Regions from separate parts of the Homo sapiens genome. Here region 1 is linked to region 2. Evidence: promoter capture Hi-C in human tissues and cell types (Jung and others, 2019). All regions are on one chromosome and are shown on one strand. The core of a region is centred on a gene start or on the middle of the fragment in contact, and the rest is flanking DNA. Distances in the headings are between cores, read along the strand shown. Region 1 holds the start of TXN2 (thioredoxin 2). Region 2 has its middle 6.1 kb from the start of APOL6.

The links. Contacts are between HindIII fragments. The study calls those that stand out against the background at their distance.
Region 1: the fragment with the promoter of TXN2 here is called in contact with a fragment that was not itself captured in region 2 in 1 of the 25 tissues and cell types used here (neural progenitor cells).

What each region holds. Positions count from the first base shown.
Region 1 is chr22:36,479,797-36,483,170 of GRCh38, forward strand. TXN2 (thioredoxin 2) reads right to left here and starts at 1,844. Exons shown (of 4, transcript NM_012473.4): 1 at 1,768-1,844; 2 at 779-1,041. The coding sequence starts at 1,041. RefSeq lists an enhancer at 2,274-3,220. The HindIII fragment of the contact is 22,621 bases long and covers 1-3,374 here.
Region 2 is chr22:35,640,502-35,644,152 of GRCh38, forward strand. No RefSeq gene overlaps it. Among named protein-coding and RNA genes, the nearest start is that of APOL6, 6.1 kb to the right of the region's middle. The HindIII fragment of the contact is 6,172 bases long and covers 1-3,651 here.

The sequences.
Region 1 (3,374 bases), core at 594-3,093, 840 kb after region 2:
TCTCTAAAGCAAACTCAGATAGCACTGAAAGGAAACTCCTTCCTATGCCCTGTATGCTTGGGCACCACGGTAGTGACACCGATAACTTTTTTTTTTTTTTTTTGAGATGGAATTTCACTCTTTTTGCCCAGGCTGGAGTGTAATGGCGCGATCTTCAGCTCACTACAAACACTACCTCTTAGGTTCAAGTGATTCTCCTGCCTCAGCCTCCCGAGTAGCTGGGATTACAGGCACACACCACCACGCCTAGCTAATTTTGTATTTTTAATAGAGACAGGGTATCACCATGTTGGCCAGGCTGGTCTTGAACTCCTGACCTCAGGTGATCTGCCCGCCTTGGCCTCCCAAAGTGCTGGGATTACAGGCATGAGCCACCGCACCCGGCCGACACTGATAACTTTTTGCCAGCCCTTCTTGCGGTTTTCATGGCAGGATGTTAACATCAGCTTATCTGCAGGGCCAGGAACTGGTATACACCAAAAGCAAGGTGACAGTCATATTTTTCCAACTCTGGTCCATGCTAAAGATGACGCTGAGCTTTCTGGGGATTGAGAAACAGAACATGTGTTTCCCAGCACTAACAGTCAGCTTTGCAGACTGTTCACTTGTCTGTCTTCCACCAGACTGCATTCCCCTTGAGGGCAGGGACTGGGCCTGACCAGTCTGTATATTGAGTCTACATATGAGCAGCATAGAACATGGCCGTGGGACACAGCAGGCATTCAATAAATACTTGAACAAGTAGGACCCTAGTCTTCTGTGGACCCCCAATACTCACTGTGCGTGGAAATCCACAACCACTGGTGTCTCACTGTTGACCACTCGGTCTTGAAAGTCAGGTCCATCCTGGATATTAAAGGTTGTCAAGGAGATCCTCGTGGTGTATATTGTCCGGGCTGGGTTGGGTGTTACAGTCAGGCCACCAGGACTGCATTGTGGGGTCTGCAGGGCTCTGGAAGTGAGGGGTGGCCACTGACCCTGAGAGGGCTTCCTGGAGATGACAGAGGCCAGGAACCTCCTCAGAAGAAGTCGCTGAGCCATCTGTGAGGGAAAGAGGCAGAAGAACTGGGGCACACAAAAGGAAGTCGACACACTAGAAAAAGATTTGGGGAGTACTCAGGGCTCAGGAAGAGGCAGAGTTGGAAGCAAAATGCAAGGAAATCATATGTAAGATTTGTAGCGTGGAAGTGAGGAAGCAATGAGAATCAAAGGGAAGGAACAGCTAGGCAAACCAGAAGGACAGGAAAACTGGCTTCACAACCAAAAAGAAATCGGGATTTAGATTATAACGGAAGAATGGGAGGAAGAAACCAACAGATTTAATAATGTATGTAAGGACCAAGTACCTTACACACATTATTGGTCTTCCTACAGCAACTTCCAGGAAGTTGCTATTGTACTGCCCACACTGCGAGTAAGGGAAGGAATACGAGGCTCAAGTAAGTTAAGTGACATGCCCAAAGTAACCCCGCTATTAAATGACAGCCAACACTGGAACCCAGGGTCGTCTGAAAAGATGAAACGCAACAATTCAAGGAGGAACTAAGAGTGTGAGAGGAACCAAAAACGAAGAGACATGTACTGGAGGGAACCAATAAAGAAGGGACATGTGTGGAGGGAACTGGGAAAAATCGGACATCACCAGGGACCCTGGCTCTCCGGCGAGCTAGATCCCCCCGCCCGCCCGGCCGCCAGCCTGCGCAGGAACGCGCTCGCGGCATGCCTCAGCCGCGACACCACCTCGAGCCACCCCCACAGGGCTCCTACCTCCCTGCAATGCGAGCGGAGGGATGCACAGCCTAGCCCTCCCTGCCTGTCAAGGGCACGCCTGTCGTCACTTCCTCGGGGGGGGACGTACATAACGTCACTTCCGGGTACAGGCAGGCGGAAGAGCGTCCCTCTCCAATTTTTTTTTTTTTTTTTTTTTTTTTTGAGCCAGAGTCTCGCTCTGTTGCCAGGCTGGGGTGCAGTGGCGCGATCTCGGCTCACTGCAACCTCCGCCTTCCGGGTTCAAGCGATTCTCCTGCCTCAGCCTCCCGACTAGAGGCGCGCGCCACCACGCCCAGCTAATTTTTTTATTTTTAGTAGAGACGGGGTTTCACCACGTTGGCCAGGACGGTCTCGATCTTTTGACCTCGTGATCCGCCCGCCTCGGCTTCTCAGAGGGTTGTGATTACGGGCGTGAGCCACAGCGCCCATCTGTCCCTCTCCAATTTGAGGGGCGTCTGGGATTTTCCGCCAATGGGAATGGCGGGCTGAGGCACAGTTGAAGGGGCGGGGCCTCAGCTACGGACCGGAAGCAATGGGCAGGCCGTCGGGGAACGGATTGGAAGAGGCGGGCGGGCCCTGGTCTGGGCGAAGGCGGGGGCGGGGCGGGGCGGAAACGGAAGGGGTGGGCGGGCCCTAGAGGAGGGACCGGAAGAGGAGGTGATGGAGCAGGGGTAGCAATGGAGGGTACTTAAGGGAGAAAAGGCAGTTGAGAAGTCCCCGTGGTTTTGGATTTTGCAAACTCTTGTTGCTTTATTTTATTTACATATATTTATTTATTAATGACAGAGTCTCGCTCTGTCTCCCAGGCTACAGTGCAGTGGCGTGATCTCCGCTCACTGCAACATCCAAATCCCGGGTTCAAGTGATTTTCCTGCCTCAGCCTCCCAGGTAGCTGGGATTACAGGCGCGCGCCACCACGCCGGGCTGATTTTTGTATTTTTAGTAGAGACGGAGTTTCGCCATGTTGGCCAGGCTGGTCTGGAACTCCTGAGCTCAAGTGATCCGCCCGCTTCAGCCTCCCAAAGTGCTGGGATTACAGGCGTGAGCCACCTTGCCTGGCCTCCTGTTTATAACTGGCGCTGTCCACTTCCTACAGATGTTGACAGGTTCTGTTTCTCCATTTAATATGTAAAGCTAAGCTCCTCAAAGGCATGATGCCCTTTATATGTAAAAGAACTCAACCGGGAGTTTAGGGGCCATCCTTTAAGTGGCCCTCGTCTGTGTCCGCCTAAAGGAAAACAAATGAAAACTGAGGCGAGCCTAATTTAAGCAGGGAGTTTTTTTGGGTCAAGTTCGAAGACTGCAACTCGGAGCAGAGATTCAAGTTGTCCTGAATATACACTCGGATTAGCAGCAGCTGAAAGAGCGTTTTTAAAAGAACAGGCAGTTTCCAAATTGTTGATCAAAGTTTTTTTTTTTTTTTTTTTTTTTTTTGAGACAGAGTCTCGCTCTTGTTGCCCAGGCTGGAGTGCAGTGGCGCGATCTCGGCTCACTGCAACCTCTGCCTCCTGGGTTCAAGGGATTCTTCTCCCTCTGCCTCCCCAGTAGCTGGGACTACAGGCGTGCCTCACCACGCCTAGCTAATTTTTATATTTTTAGTAGAG
Region 2 (3,651 bases), core at 309-2,808:
AGTGCTGGGATTACAGGTGTGACCCACCGCACCCAGCCGACTTCTTCCCCCTTAATTCAGAAGACTTCCTGGCCTCTCTGCAAATTTGCCTTGTCCTTAGACAGTAACCCTTGAGCTCTGCACAGCACAAGATAAGATAGGAATTTGAGTAGTTCTGTGTCAAGTCAAATACTTGCCTTCTTTCCCATGGGATTTTGGAATCTAAGCTTTAAGAATTTTAGAGACTTAAAGAAAAATAATCTTCACCTTAAATGCAGAAACGTGTGGGACCTCCTGGCAGCCCAGATGTGGCTGTCACCAGGCACTGCCTTGAGCCTAACCCTAACCAGCCCTTCTTCAGGGCCACAGTAGAGTATCCAGGCCCACAGTCAGAAGGAGCTGGCAGCATCCCAGGGCCATAGGGAGACCATCCTGACTGGATGCCAGGCAGCAACAACCAAATAAAACCCCATTTGCTTTGTGGCTTCTGCCCTGGTCCCACAACTTGCCAGTGCTTTCTGGCCCATTTGGCCTCTTCCCGGCTCCACACCTCCTCCATTGTCAGATGCTATGGTTTGCCCTCTTGCCCCAAAAACTGCTTCTCCTAAGGACTGGAGCTTGTGTTCTGTCCTACCTGCTTTGCTCATGGAGGACTGCTCAGTTTAGCTGCCAAGCCCCACCCCTCCACAGGCCCCCACCCTCTCTGGGATTCTGGTGCATGCGATTTTCTCCAACTCATTATATTTGAACCAGACCTACTATGAGCTGTGAAATTTAGGTCCCTCGGAGTCAACAAAGGTTCACTGTGCTAGGTGCTAACTGCCAAGGAGAAAAGATGTAGGTCCTGCTCTGATGTCACCTAGCAATGGGTAGAGAGGTGGGAGAGCTTAAGCTCATTGCCACTGAAGCTAAGTCCCTTAGATAAGGCAGGGGGCCAGGATGAGAGTGAGGGAAGACACTGAGAGCAACAGGAGGCAGCCAAAGGACCAGGCAGATGGGGCAGGTCCTTGGTGAAACCCTACCTTCAAGCCAAAACACAGCCTGAAGGCTGAAAGACCAGACTTCTGGTCCTGGATGAAACCCTCAACCCAGAGTGAGAACATCTGTTCCTGTTTGCCCACCCTTTCCCGATTGATTCTTTCTGAATAATGCTTTGTAGCAGTGGAATGTTGCCTTTTCTAATACTACCTACAGCCTGCCCCTCCCCCATTCTAAGCCTATAAAAGACCAGACTCAGCCACAGTGGAGGAACTTTCCTGCCTTTGGATAGGGGGGCCACCCACGTGTCACCTCTCCACTGAAAGCTGTTTCATCACTCAATAAAACTCCCCACCTTGCTCACTCTTCAATTGTCAGTGTATCCTCACTCTTCTTGGGTGCAGGACAAGAACTCGGGAACTGGTACACAAGCCAGACTCAACCACGGTGGGCCGACTGAGCAGGCCATCTCATGCAGCAGGTAGCATGGCCAAGAGAGGCCCAGGTGGGGCATTGCCGGCCAGAGGTCCCCGGCTTGCAAAGTGACCAAGAAAAAATCCTGTGTCAAAACCAATGTATATTTTTTGTGATTGGCCTTCTTGGGATGCAAGGGGCAGTCTGAAAAAACAATCCACAGGGCTGGGGAGCAAATAAGACTTGGATACAAAGCGACAGAGATGCAAAATACTCTTTGAATCATAGCATCTCAGCAAGAATCACAGAATGGTAGATTCTAAGGGTCATAGGATCACAGCCAAGAAAAGGACCTTGACTTATCCAGGGAGATCCCCTTGTTTTGCAGATGTGAAAATGGAGGCTTAGAGAGGGAGGGGCCCTGGTGTTTCAAGGGGAGCCTGCCCTGTCCCACACTCATTCCTGAAGGCTGAGGCTCCTCCTGCTGGAAGACACTCCCTTCTGGAGCATCATGAGGTCACAGGGGATCCCTGGCTAGCCAGCCAGAGCCCAGCTGCCCACACTTGCAGGGGAAACAGCATGTCCATAGCCACAGTGGGAGCAGAACTAGGTCTGCTGCTCCTCAGTGGCCTGGTGGACTTTCATCCCTGGCCACAGCAAGGCTTCCTGGAGCCACAGATTCAGATGGCCTGTGGACTTTCATCCTTGGCCACAGTGAGGCTTCCTGGAGCATGTCCAGCAGTTCCCTATGTACAGACACAAAGCCTCTGGGGGAGATAACACCATCTTCAGCCCAGCAAAGAGGGAGTCCCGATGGTCGTGGAGGGCAATTGCCAGAGGGGCCCATTCTCTGTGATGCATGTGGAGTGATGGGAAGCCCAAGCCTAGAGAGGTTATAGGAAATCCTAACATGGATTCTTCTAGCTGGAGCAGAGTGGCTGCTAAGCCAGGGTACTCAGGGCACCCAGAGGCTCCCACCTTGGAAGACCAGCTGCCAGGAACATGCCACTTCACAAAACGCTATCGGGGGTCTCTGGGCCACATCAGAGGTAGCCAGCCCTTTAATACCTGACACCCCCTCCCCCAGAGAGGGCATTCGCCAGCTGACTCCTACAGAAGAGCACCCCTTTTATTGGGTACCCTTTTTACCTCCCTCCAACCTCATGGCTCAGTGAGGACTTTCTGGATACTAGAATACTGCTTTTGTTATCGGAGAGGTAATGTAACCTGGACTGAGGGATCAGAGAACCAAATAACCCCAGCCACAGAGACCAGTGGGATATGGAACACAGGTTAACCTAGAGAGACCTTTCCAAAGAATTTTCTTACTGGATCTGGTGGGGAAAATGCTCTTGCATCTCCAATCCAGGAACTAGAAGGACATGAATTGTAATAGACTTGAAATTCTCTTCTTTCTGTTATGGAAAAAGCCCACCTGTAGTGGGACAGAATGAGGCTGGAAGAGAGAGAGAGAAAGAGAGAGAGAGACAGCGAGAGAGCTACAGTGGGGCTCCTGGTCCCTGAACCTGGAGCTGCCTGAAACCTTCTGGGTTTTCCTTTGATTCTGTGAACAGGTCAGTAGCTCTCGAGCATTCTATCTGTGACCCATTTCACAGTGCAATCCATAACACACACACACACACACACACACACGTAAGTGTGTGCATCATCACTATATGGACATAATTTCCATGAAACACTACTTATACCCTTATTATGTATGATATACTCTGATATTTTTTACTTTATCTCATTTCATTTTCTTTCTTTCTGTCTGTCTTTTTTTTTTTTTTTGAGATGGTCTGTCTCCCAGGCTGGAGTGCAGTGGCACAATCTCGATCACAGCTCACTGCAGGCTCAACCTCCTGGGCTCAAGTGATCCTCCCACCTCAGCACCCCCCATCCCCCATCCCCTCAACACACACACCAGTCTCTAGGACCATAGGCGCACCACCACACCCGGCTAATTTTTGCATTTTTTTGTGGAGACAAGGTTTCACCATGTTACCCAAACTGGTCTGACTCCTAGGCTCAGGCAATCCTCCAGCCTCAGCCTCCTAAAATGCTGGGATTACAGGCATGAGCCACCATGTCCAACCTCATTTCCCTTTATTATTTCTTGAGACCCACTAAGCTGATTTCATGACACTGTAAATTGTGACTTGCAGTATAAGAACAACCAAGCTGGATAAATGGCTTCCTTGTTTTTGCTTACACTGCTCCAAGATGATGTGTCACTTGCAACCTGCTAACCAAAATGCCAACTAACCTTGCCTCTTG